2 separate regions of the Homo sapiens genome follow, and region 2 is linked to region 1. The links are contacts of gene promoters, found by promoter capture Hi-C in blood cells and fetal thymus (Javierre and others, 2016). All regions are on one chromosome and are shown on one strand. Each heading gives the region's core, a stretch centred on a gene start or on the middle of the fragment in contact. The rest is flanking DNA. Distances are from core to core; before and after follow the strand shown. Region 1 holds the start of CNMD (chondromodulin). Region 2 has its middle 6.4 kb from the start of LINC01065.

Region 1 (6,807 bases), core at 2,691-5,190:
ATGACATCATATTTTGTGATTACCTGCTTAATGACCATGTTTTCCACTATTCTATAAGCTCATCAAGAGCAGGGGCCATGTCTCATGTGCTCATTACTGTGTACCCAGACCTGGCACAGTGCCTGAGAGCAGAGTTGGGTTATAACTTCCAGGGAATGGGCCTACAGGTGGGCCCAGCAGCAGAGTGGGTAGAAGAAAGCAAGCCTGTGAAAGGGGGCACCCCTTTGATTTCATTCTTCACGAGTGTCTAAGTTCATTTTGTGCTGCTAAAACAGAATACCACAGGCCGGTTAATTTATAAACCAAGCTTATTTGGCTTATGGTTCTGGAGGCTGGGAAGTCCAAGAGTAAGGTGCTGTACCTGGTGAGGGCCTTTGTGGCAGAAGGTGGAAGAATGAGAGAACACATGCCCATGTGAGAAAGGGAAAGGGAGCCAAACTCATCCTTTTATCAGGAACCCACTCTCATGATAACTACCCCACTCCTGCAACAGTGGCATTGATCCTTTCACAAAGGCAGAACCCTCATGACCTAATCATCTCTTAAAGGTCCACCTCTCAACACTTGCATTGGGAATTCAGTTTCCAGCACATGAATTTTGAGAAACACATTCAAACCACAGCAATGAGCCTCCCAGTCTTGCTCCCTTACTGCTTTTTCTACTGCCTTTTCATTATCTATAACCATCATCATGTGAACACACTACCTTAAAATTGTTGAAAATATGCCACTTTAGGAGAATGTGCTCAGAGGAGGCAACTGATCTCCATACCCACTCCTCACCCCTCACGCCCTGGTCAGCTACTTTCTGTATATTATGTGTTAAAAATGTATGAATGAGGCAAGGTCTTGCATTTCCCCTGATTCCTCACCCTCTCTTCAATGTCTGTTTGGCCCCAAAGTATCCACTCACCACTCACTCCCTCCAGTCCTTCTCTCCTTCTCAAGGTTCATCAAGGGAAGGTGGTACCTTCCTTGATCCTCTAACTCCCCTCATCTAAAACTTCCTTACATTCATCCTTCTTCCCCTCAAGTTGAAAGTTGTTAAAAGAATTGTCTCCATTTGTAGCATTCACTTCCTCCCCACCTACTCACTGTTATTTAGTGCTTTATTCACTCAATTCCTGAATAGCTAATGCGTGTTCACAATATAGAATTCAAAACATTTCAGAAGGTTCACAGTTAAGCATCTTCTTTCTACTGGTCTCCCCAAGCTTCACATTTTCCTCAGAGGCAACCCCCACTACCAGCATCTTATCTTTCCAGAAAGCATATACTTACATTTATTCTTGTTTGTATTTCTTTATACAAATGGAAGCATTTCTACGCATTTTCTACCTTTTGCTTTTTTCACTTGAAGTATCTTAGAGAGTGTTCTATCTACATCACTACATCCAAAGCTGCCTCATTCTTTTAAAGGGCTGCCAAACCCCCACGGTGAGAATGGATCATAAATTGTCTACTCTGGACATTGAGTATATTACTAGTGCTTTGTTCTAACAAACATGCTGCAGTGAGCATCGTTGCACCTGCAGGATTTTTCCACCCTTGTGAGTGCATCTGTAGGATAAATCCATAGAAATGAAACTGCATTTTGCATTTTGGAATTAAATTGTTCTCCATAGAAGTTGTACCAATTCACCCACTACAGTAGTCCATAAATTCACTGCCCCTCATATTTTTCAACAGATTGTTTTAACAAGCGTTTTTATGTTTTTCCAGTCTCATAGGTGAACCAGTCTACTTTTAATTTGCATTTCCTTGTATGAATGCAGTTGTGGCCAGGCGTGGTGGCTCATGCCTGTAATCCCAGCATTTTGGAAGGTCAAGGTGGGCGGATCACTTGATGTCAGGAGTTCGAGACCAGCCTGGCGAACGTGGTGAAACCCTGCCTCTATTAAAAATAGAAAAATTAGTCAGGCATGGTGGCTGGCGCCTGTAATACCAGCCACTTGGGAGGCTGAGGCAGGAGAACCACTTGAACCTGGGAGGTGGAGGTTGCAGTGAGCCAAAATCGCACCACTGCACTCCAGCCTGGGCGATAGAGCAAGACTCTGTCTCAAAAAAAAAAAAAAAAAAAAAAAAAAAAAGGCAAAATAATGCTGTTGTTCATTCTTCTTACATTTAAGAGAAATTTCTACTTCTTGCTTCACCAACTCTCTGTTTCCATTCTTTGCCATTTTTTCTACTACATTTTTGGTCTTTTGGTTTTCCTAGGAAAACACTATATAAGAAAACTAGTTCCTTGTCTGTGGTATAAGTTGCAAATATTTTTAATCACTCTGTAACCCTTTGCAATGTGTCTTCTGTGCCCAGGGAAGCAAATGGAACTACTCTCTCGCTGGTTCCCATGGCCTCTTGGTTGTGCCCTTCCAAGGCCTTTCTCTGTGCTCATTTTTTTTCAGCATTTGACACTGCTGACCCACCCTTCTTGAATGTGCCTTTAAAATTACATGTACTACTTTATATTGTACCATCTCCCACCTCTCTGACAGTTACTTCTCTTATTCCTTCACCAAAATTCCTGTGAAGAATGCCCTTGTGAAAAGAGGTCTTTGAACTCTGCCTCAGCAGTGCCCCAGGGATGAGCCCTGGCTGGAGATCTTGCTGGAGTTTTTTCCAAGCACCTTAAGTCTAGTGTGATGTGCAGACAGCTGTTTCCATAGCTGATTCCAATGCAGGCTCAGGACATTTCCTTGGCTCTTTTACTTTTCATCCCCACATCAAGCTCAACATGTCTAAAACTGTTTCTTCCAATTTTTTCACTTCCCTAGGGTTCCTATCACTCTCCCAATCCTCCTAGGTCTGAAAACTCAGTTCCCACAGCCCAGGAATTGCCAAGTCCTATCGATTCTTCTGTGAAAGTGGTCTCCTCCACTTCTCCCCTCCTTCCCAGCCCCAGGTCATCATGCTTGTCACCTCATTCTTCATCACATGTCTTGGATGATTCTTCAACACTTTCTCCTTCTGCAGTCCTGCACATGCAATCTCCCGCTGCCCTTTGGGGAAGCCTCAATCCCTCTCATGCACTAGTGCTCCTCACTTACACCTCACCAGAGAGCTCTGCACAAAGCTAGAATCGAACGCAATTTAAGGAAGCCTGGATCCAAATGAAGTACCATGTATCCTGGAACTGGAAGATGGCATTTCCAAAAGTGAAAATTTTATATACATACATACATACACACACACACACACACACACACACACATTTGTGTTATTCCTTTGGATACATCAGTACTCTGTGTGTGTGTGTGTGTGTGTGTGTGTGCTTTGCCATTGTTGCTTTTGTTTGCACTTATTTAATTTATTCAACCAACCAGCATGCACTTTTATTCTGGTCTCCCCAACTCCTTCCCTCCAGCCCTGCTCTGCTTAGCTCTCACTTTTGCTGCAGTTGTACCCAGACCCTAGAAAAACTGGTGGCAAGGAGCCATCCCTAAGACCCTGCTCTGTTTTCCAGTCCCAGGGGCCATCCAGCAATGCCAGGCCAGTGAGAAGGTGGCCTAACCCTTACACTCTTAGGCCAGTGTCCCCTGTCCACCTGCACCACTCTGTTGTCTTCTCCTTCACCTTCCATGAGCCATCTTCCCCCCACCCCCACCCCAACACACACCTACAAAGACCCTGCAGGAAATGGCCTCCAGCCAGTTGTCACAGCAGAGCCCGCTGACATTCTAAGACATCCTCCGGTGCATGGCTAATTGCTCTGGCACTTGAGTATTTCTTTGGGTCCCAGGATTCAGCATCCCGCTCTGAGGGATGCAACCACCCCCACACATTCAGAGTCACCGGGATGCTGTTTGGGGGGCCAGTAGACAGGATAGAGTGAGGAGGAAAGGGGGCATCCGGGAGTGCAGGACGAGCTTCCCGCGGCGGGAGAGAGAAGGGAGGAGAGAGGTGAGGCGCTGGAAGGGGTGGGGACCGCTGGGCTGGCCCAGGCGGGACCGTGCACCGTGTGTGCGCGCGGCGTTGAAATGCCCTGCACGTCGGGGCAGCGGGACAGATCCCAGGGTGCCCAGGGAGTCTCCAAGTGCCTCACTCCTCCCGCCGCAAACATGACAGAGAACTCCGACAAAGTTCCCATTGCCCTGGTGGGACCTGATGACGTGGAATTCTGCAGCCCCCCGGTGAGTACCGCCAGGGATTCCACACGCAGGGCCTGGGTTGTGTGAGTATCAGGTTCCACAGTTCGGACTCAGGGGTGCGTGCCACCGAATGGGTGTGTTGGCGGGGGGATAAATTTGGGTCCCAAATGTGTGGGTGGGATGTCGCCCCACGCGTATGAGTGTGCAGGGGTCACGGCATCCACAGGCGGGTGCGGAGGGACGTCCCGTGGCCGGTAGAGGGTGCAGGTCCTGGGGCGAAGGCCCTGTGCTGCGGGGTTTGCTCATCCCACTTCCACGCCCGACTGCAAAGGACCCTCGGGAGGGAGCGCGGCGAAAGGGGCACCCGTAGGAGCCCGGGCGAGCTGTTTCCCGCCCGACTCCCCACTCCCTGGGGGCTACCGCGTGGGGCCCGGGTGCGCTGGGGGCCGCAGGTGCTGGCGGCACAAACGCGACGGTCCCTCTCCCGCCCCGGCCCGCAGGCGTACGCTACGCTGACGGTGAAGCCCTCCAGCCCCGCGCGGCTGCTCAAGGTGGGAGCCGTGGTCCTCATTTCGGGAGCTGTGCTGCTGCTCTTTGGGGCCATCGGGGCCTTCTACTTCTGGAAGGGGAGCGACAGTCACGTAAGTCCAGAGGGCGGCGCGCGGGGACCCCCGTGTCGCCCATGGTGCCCCTAGGGGGAGCCCGAGCGCGGGCCGGCGAGGGGCGCGCGGCTGCCGGCGGGCCCCTCGGGCCCAGCGTGAGCTCCCCTCTCCCATCCCACTCTGGCACGCGGCTTTCCGCCTTAGGTCAACGTTGTAGAAAAGCAAGTGAAGGTTTCACGGGAGAAGATTGAAGCGTAGAGTAGGGGAGAATGTAGTGGACGGTCCGAGAAAGGCCGTTCTCGGCTCATCTCCCACTAAGCAGTGGCGCGACCGTGGGGAAGGCACGTCACCTTTTGGCCTCAGTGTACTCGTCCTGAAGGGAAAAAATGGAACTGGACGATCTCTAAGGCCTGTCCCTGCTAAGAAAGGCTGTGGGTTTAAAATCCAGGACAAAGATAGTGGAGGAATATTCAGACCCATATTCAGACCCATTGGGAAGGAATTTTTGCCTTTCAGAAGGTTTTTTTGTGACCTAGCCATGAACATTCCCTTCTCTCTCTGGAAAACAAAAACAAAAAACAAACAAACAAACAAAACGTCTAACTTCCTTAAAGGTGGAAAATCTCTTTAACAATTAATTCTGGCCTAGTCATCACATGTGGTTTAATAGTAGGTGTTTTACTAACTGCTGTCCTACTTTCTTTGTATGCAACTATTTATTTTAAAGCTCCACGGCTCTCGAGGAGTATAAAGACTGTTTCTAAGTTGACTGGGCAGAGCTCCAGTGTGTTCTCTAAATACTCTGAAAGTGTTCACCTATGTAAAAGGGGGCATTTTATCTTGATGACCACTGCCAGGTCTGGTATAAGCTTATTTCAACTAATGGAAAAGAATTCCATCTCCAGGGCACACACAAAGGGCTCTTTCATAATCACTATCCTCAGAGGATTGGTGATTGCTGTTTTTTCCTCTCTCCTACCATGAAATGCAAAGCATGAACGAATTCCAGTACTTACAGAAAATGGTGCTGAAAGCAATTCAACCATTTTACACATCACGTCTTCTGCAGTCACTGCATAATTTGTATTTTTAACTCAAATGTCTAATGTAGATAAGCATGCCATTTAGCACCGAGTCTGTTTTAGAGACTATATCAAATTTACAAGCATCGATTTGTAAGATCAGAATTGCACTGTATTTTGTGGGTATTTGAAAAGTGCCTTAATGTATTTGTATTTTAAATATAGAAGCTGGGCCAGATGCTCATGTTTGAAACAGCAAATGTGAATAAGAGAATGATTTCAATATCTACATCTCCATTAATAGCAGGGTTTAGATTGTCATCTCTTTGGGAAATTCTGTGGTTTTAGAATGTAAATGCTATCTTTTAAATAACAAAGCCTCAATGGTATAGGTCAATGGGGGATAACAATAGCTATGCTTTTTTTTGGTAAAGATTCTGGACATGATATATTTTAAAATGAATACCATTTGTCATTTAATTATTCAAGGTAAACATCACTAACTGACAGGCTTCTAAAAAGAGAGATTAAACAATCATACTGAATAAGCACAGCTCCCTTTTTTCATATATTTTACTTTACTGCAAGATGGTTGGTTGTCTGGTTCAGGAGAGCAGTATTAAATGCTAAGAATTCAGAGGAATAGTGAATCACATTTTATTGTCAACAATCAAAATTATTGCTATATCCTATACAGACAGGAGAATGAAGAAAATCATGATAGTTTTTTTCTCCCTGATCCATATGACTTAAGTATGAAAAACAAATCACAAAATACTAAATAGAGTAATTTTTGCACCACCTAGGCATAGCACATGCACAGGTCTGCTTTGCCTGAATACAAATCTAAATAGCTCAGACAAAACGTAATCAAAAAAGGTAAGTCTTTGTCAAACAGAAAGACTTGTCAAACCAAATGGATTATCCACTCTTTGGGGATTATCTGTGCCTCGGCTCCTCTATATTGGTTTATAGAGGAGAACCAGCTGTAATTCACCTCCTATCCTTTTCATGTGGGTAAATCCCCTTAGGACAGGTTTACTGAAATTTAGCTGGAGGACTATGAAGCACTGGAGTAATAATAATCAGGGGACA
Region 2 (6,360 bases), core at 2,594-5,093, 420 kb before region 1:
AAGTACTAGAGGAGCCCATGGTGATTAGCTGCACTAATTGGAATTTCAAGTGGTGCTGATAACCACACAAAGATAATAGGATTATACCTTTTCTCCCTGAAAAAAAGAAGTAGCTTTGTCATAACTATTTAAATGATGGTTTTAAGCTGTTTCACACCTAACTACACCCAAAAAAAGGGAACATTTTTAGATTCTATTTTTATTCCTATAAGAAAGAAAAAGAAAATTCTTCCACGTAGCAGTAAATGTACAAAGGAATGTCCCTCCCTGTCTGGGTTTCATCTTGCTCTCAAAGAAGCACAGAAAAGCAATTTTACTTGCCCACCAACGGGAACTCAAGCTGAGTCAGAAAGTCAGAGAGACCTGCTCTTCCCTACAGGAACATATTTTTGTTTTGGTTTGCAGAAACTTTCTCAGAAATTATGAACATCTTCTTCCCCAGGATGGTCAGAACTGTAAATATAATTCATCTTTGGGAAGGCTGGGCAGATGTTACTATCTGCATTTTATATTTTAAGATAAACTATCATTGAAGACTGCGGGCGGTGGTTCACTCCTGTAATTCACGCGCTTTGGGAGGCCAAAACAGGACCCGGATCGCTTGAGCCCAGGAGTTTGAGACCAGCCTGGGCAACATAGTGAGACCTTGGTTTTACAAAAAATAAATTTTTTAAAAAATTAGCCAGGTGTGGTGGCACATGCCTGTAGTCCCAGCTACTCAGAAGGCTGAGGTAGGAAGATTGCTTTAGCACAGGACGTCGAGGTTGTAGTGAACCGTGATTGTGCCACTGCACCCCAGCCTGGGTAAGAGAGCAAGACCCTGTCTGTCTCAAAACAACAACAAAAAACAAAGAAACTATCATTGAAGAGATTAAGTGAGGTTTTCCCATTCTTCTCTTCACTTGAGAACATTCCACATTTATAGAAATGTATTTGTTTCCAAACCCAATAGGTCCCACAAGCAGCAAGAGGCAGAGTCTGGCTGCAGCACCTTCAGGCCACCTCCTCCCTGGGAGCAGGCTCCGGGGCATCCCCCTCAGCCCAGCTGTCTTCCTTGCGTCCTGACACCTCACTTAATCCTCACAGATAAAAATCCCAGGCCGGGCGTGGTGGCTTATGCCTGTAATCCCAGCACTTTAGGAGACCGAGGCGGGCAGATCACGAGGTCAAGAGATCAAGACCATCCTGGTCAACATGGTGAAACCTAGTCTCTACTAAAAATACAAAAAATTAGCTGGGCATGGTGGTGCACACCTGTACTCCCAGCTGCTGGGGAGGCTGACACAGGAGAATCGCTTGAACCCAGGAGGCGGAAGTTGCAGTGAGCTGAGATCCTGCCTCTGCACCCCCACCTGGGTGGCAGAGCGAGACTCTGTCTCAAAAAAAAAATAAAAAATAAAAAATAAAATACCCAATGCGGGTAAAGAGCTGAAAACCCTGCCAGAGGGTCATACCCCCTGTCTTGTGAACAAGAGGTGGGGTCAGAAATCTTTTTCTTCAGATCTTAAATACACAGAAGAGATAACATAGATTTATTTCAAGTAAATATGAAAAGCAAATGCTGGTCACAAAGTTACTTACACTTGCTGTCAAAGTTCTGGTGGCCACAAAGTACAGATTTTACTATGTGGCTAATTAGGTTCCTTCGGATCCTTGAGGAGCCATAAGATGTTTTCTTAAGTAAGGGTGTAAAGCCAGACCTACATTGCAAACCTCTTTGGCCTGAAAATAAATTGGAGAAATTTAATTGCACAGCCACTGGTTCTATCCACTCTTGAAAGCATGCCTACTCCAGCACAAGGGCCTGGTCACATGGAGAATCCCAGGAGGAGAGACAGAAGCCACATGGAGTTGCCATGGCAACTTAAGGAGGCCTGAAAGGCCAGTTTACCCCTACATATCTTCCTCACATGCCTAGTCATAGTTTTAGACATTCTTTAGGTTCACATGTTTCATCTCTAGAAAGAAAAGTATCTGTCTAAATGTTACCATTTTATCAGAGAAAGCAATGATGCCCCAATATCACATTACTGGGAAAAAAAGAAAAAAAAAAAGCTTGGGAAAATTTAGTCAAGACCAAGGCCCTGGGGAAATCAAAGAAGAAGGTAGAGATATATATGTATTTGTGTAAAGAAAAGCAGGAAAACTATGGATAGATTCTGAGGCCCGTTCTGGAAGAAATCAAGCAAAGGACAAAGGCTTCCTAAGAAAAACATAAAAACAGTAGACCTCAGTGACTAGATTTCCAAAAGTGGAGAAATTTTTGCCAACAAGTGAAGTGAGGTAAGCCAAAGACAAGTTTTGTTTACTTTGAAATTTTCCCTTGGGTTATCCAATAACCAAAATAGGTCTTCTGGTTAATATATTTTTTAGGATAAATGACAAGTAAGTTTCTCACTAGACAGTAAGTATCATGCAAGAAAAAAATGTATTTACTTCTGCACCCTAAAGCTAAATACTATGTACCTGGATAAAAGGAAGGAAGGAAGGAAGGAAGGAAGGAAGGAAGGAAGGAAGGAAGGAAGGTGGGAGGGAGGGAGGGGAGAAAGAGAGAAGAGAGAGAGGGAGGGACAGAGGGAGGGAGGGAGGAAAAGGAAGGAAGGGAGGGAGGGAGGGAGGAAGGAAGGAGGAAGGAAGAAGGGAAGGAGAAAGGAAAGAAGAAGAAGGAAGGGCAGGGAGGAAGGAAGGGAAAGAAAGACAGGCAATTGTTTGCAATCTTTCTAAGAAAACTGAATCTTAGGCAATTGAGAAATTTTAATAACTGCAATTATGACTTTACAGTGCTGAAAATGATGATCCAGAAGATATAGGGGACCAAATTAAATGTGTACTTATTCCCCTAAGGATATAATTTAAAAGAGATTTTTGTTTGAGTTTTTGTATTAGTGAAGAATGGAAGGGCAGTGATAAAATAGCTATCAGACACTGGAGAAAAGAAAGCTTGAATCATGTACTGGCAGAACAATTGGTAAAACAGTCCCTGAAGTAAACTGGAAGTTAGAAATTGATACCCAAAGTGGAGTACTCCTACAACAAAAAGCTAAGACATGTGGGATTTGGAATTGTGCAATAGGTGGAGACCTGATAAATCTCAAGAAGACACTTAATGTTAGTTAAAAGAGCGGAGAGGAAATTGCTTTCTGGAAGCTGGAGAAAAGAAAACCCAAGTTATGGATGTGTAGATTCATTAGCAAAACTATCACCAACAGTAATGTGCAAAATAGAAAAGATACCTAATTAACTTGTGGATCCAGCTATGAAGATATCCACACGGGATGTTTAAAGTAGCACCTTGCATCTTTTAGTTGCCTAAGTTAAGTTATGGGAAGTGTAAGATGAACTAAAGAATTAGCTATTCTGTTTTCAAGCAGAATTTGAAGAAAATGCAAAGGCTTTGGGGTTCAAAAATAAATTCTCATCCCCAGTGTTCCTTGGAAAAATATTCTCAAAGTAAAATCTGCCTCATATCAAATCCAGAACAATACCAATAAAATAGGGACTCAAAGTAAAGATGAAATCAAGGATACTGCTTGTGAGATCTCAGAAAAGATTTAGGGCTCTGACCCATAAATTCCCTTGGATAGAAAAAGGGGCTTCTAGGAATCCTCACAAATTGCCTCAAACTCTCTCACCAAAAAAAAAGAAAGAAAAGAGAAGAAATAAAGATCTTCTAAAAATAGTAAAGGTATTATCCCATAGCACCCTGACTTGCAGGCAAAATTAGGAAGGGATCAGTTTTAAAGAGCTTTGTGGGTATAACTTTTGTCTAATGAAGTTAACCCCTAATAAGATACCTAAGAAACCCACAAAGTTTTAAAGAGAATTGTACTAGCACAAACATTGCCAGATTGAACTAAAAGAGACAGAAGCATTTCAAAATAAAAAGAAGCCTTTGTGCTCTCAACCTTCTATGAGCAAGATGAAGACTGAAAGCCACTCAGTTGTAAGCATGAGCCATGGAGAATCACTTCCAGATATCAGAACTAGGCCCTAAGATCTGAAAATATGTACCCAGCTAGATTGCAGGTTGCTTAAGATTGGTGACTGCTATATTTTTCACATTTCCCCCTTTTTGAATGGACCTTTTATTGCCATTTTTCAGTCCTTGCTTCACCATTATATGTTGATGGTTATGGGCATGAGGGAGAATATAACTTATCTCTTCATCTCTTCAGTTCACTGGTATTCAAATCAAAAGTGATTATACCTAAGAAGCCTCATCTTTCACCTGGGCCTGATTTAGATGATGAGATTGTAGACTTCAAGTCCAAATCTCATGCTGTAACAGAATGAGATTATGGGGGTCTCAGCAAAAGCAGAGGGTATTGCAGGAGGAATGAGAATTATTAGAGGCCAGATTGTTGACAGTGATAAACAGATATTTTGGTAGCTCTCAATGAACCATTTCTCTTATCATGCCCTTGTGTAGTTCTCTGCCAGGTTGACTCTAGGGTTGGCCATGTGACTACCCTTAGTCTATGGGACATTAGTAAGTGTGATGCAAGCAAAGGATTGATAGGGCCCTGAGCGTATTTTCCTGGAATGCTCCGTCTTGAAACCCAGCTGCAATACTGTGAGGAACCCCAAGCTAGCCATTTGGAGTAGACACATGGAGATAGAGATGCTCAGATAGTCTCCATAATTTAGACATTCAACTCAGTCAATAGTCATGTGAATAAAAAAGACATTCTGGACATTCCAGCCCAACAGATATGGAGCACAGATGAGGTTTTCCCACCAAGCTTTACCCAAATCACAGAATTCTGAGCAAATATACAATTACTGTTGTTTTAAACCACTAAGTTTTGGGGTGGTTTATTCTACAGCAATAGATAACTGAAATAGAGTGTGTGTTTCCATTTTTAAGATTTTTTTCTTTTCTTAAATATTTTGTGTGAATTTATTTTCCCATGACTAATTTTCTAATAGAAGACTAAGATTTTTAGAACATACTGGCACTGAAATCACAAGAAAGTTATTTTGTGCCATATTATCCTGTTCTACTTTCTTTATGGCATTTATAATTGTATGCAAATATCTCATTTATTTGGCCACTCCTTTTTTCAATCCTTGTTCAACACAGGAATGTATCCTCTAGTGTGTCTTTTTCACTGTTGGATCCCAGCATCTACAATACTGCCTGGTACATAGTTAAGGGCTCAGTAAATACTGTACACAACAGTAATATAGGATACTTTTTTTTTAGGGAAAAAGAAAAGGTCCCTGAGATTGACATTTCACATTTCTGGCTTGCTTAATGCTAAGATGAAATTGTCCAGGGTACTTTGCTTCCACATGGAGGACTAACAGTTTAAGGAACTGCCTGGACTTCTACAAGATTTTTGCCTCAGCAAAAAATAAACTTTTTTGTATTAAATCACTGAGAATTTGGAGTAATTTGATCCTGCAGTACAACCTAACTTATCCTGACCAATATAGTGCTTAACAGTGAGTTTATATACTTTTTGAACTCTGGCCTATAAAGTCTGGACAGCCATTTATGGATTCAATGATAATTTATTGAATACCGATCATGTTCAAGGTACTGTACTAGGTCAAGAAATAGAAACAAAGATGGATTAGATACTGCTTTAAAGAAGTTTATAGTTTGATAAGAGAAATAAATTATGCACATAATAAACTGCAGTACAAGGTAGAAAATTATGAGTGTCATAGATAGGTACAAGTAAAGTGCTATAGGAATTTATCTGAGATGGATATGAAAAGGTGCCTTAGCTCAGACCCTTATAGGTATGACAATTTATGAAAGTGAGAAGAACGACGTCCTGTTTATATATGCCATAGTGCGAAAAGTCTAGCTGTTAGGCTTTCTTTTTCCCCACATTTTCATTTCTCCGTGCACCCTCACTCTAGGCTGTTATGGGTCAAATTGTGTTCCCCACAAATTTACATGTTGAAGTCCTAAACCCAAGTACTTCAGAATGTGACCTTATTTAGAGAAAGAGTCTTACAAAGGTAATTAAGTTGAAATGAGATTATTAGAGTTTGCCTTAATCTGACATGACTGGTGTCCTGATAAAAGGGGAAATCCAGAGGCAGACATACACACAGAAAAAACAGCAAGTGAACATCAACGCAGAGATCAAGGTGATGTGTCTACAAGCCAAGAAACAGCAAAGATTACCAGCAAACCACCAGAAGTTAGGGGAGAGTCATGGAACAGATTCTTCCTCACGTCTTAAGAAAAAAACAACCCTGCCAACACCTTGATCTTGGACTGCTGGCCTCCAGAACTGTGAGACAATAAATTTCTGTTGTTGAAGCCACCTCGTTTGTGGTACTTTGTTACAGAAACATTAGCAAACCAATACAAGCCTTAAAAAGATGTATAAGACAGGG

What was found. The method cuts DNA at HindIII sites, captures the fragments that hold promoters and counts their contacts. A CHiCAGO score of 5 or more calls a contact.
Region 2: a fragment that was not itself captured here is called in contact with the fragment with the promoter of CNMD in region 1 in 1 of 17 cell types (megakaryocytes); the score reaches 6.2 in megakaryocytes.

Annotation. Positions count from the first base shown.
Region 1 is chr13:52,736,953-52,743,759 of GRCh38, reverse strand. It overlaps CNMD (chondromodulin), which reads left to right and starts at 3,940. Exons shown (of 7, transcript NM_007015.3): 1 at 3,940-4,130; 2 at 4,589-4,729. The coding sequence starts at 4,059. RefSeq lists an enhancer at 5,869-6,370. The HindIII fragment of the contact is 4,345 bases long and covers 1,217-5,561 here.
Region 2 is chr13:53,155,104-53,161,463 of GRCh38, reverse strand. No RefSeq gene overlaps it. Among named protein-coding and RNA genes, the nearest start is that of LINC01065, 6.4 kb to the right of the region's middle. The HindIII fragment of the contact is 1,802 bases long and covers 2,943-4,744 here.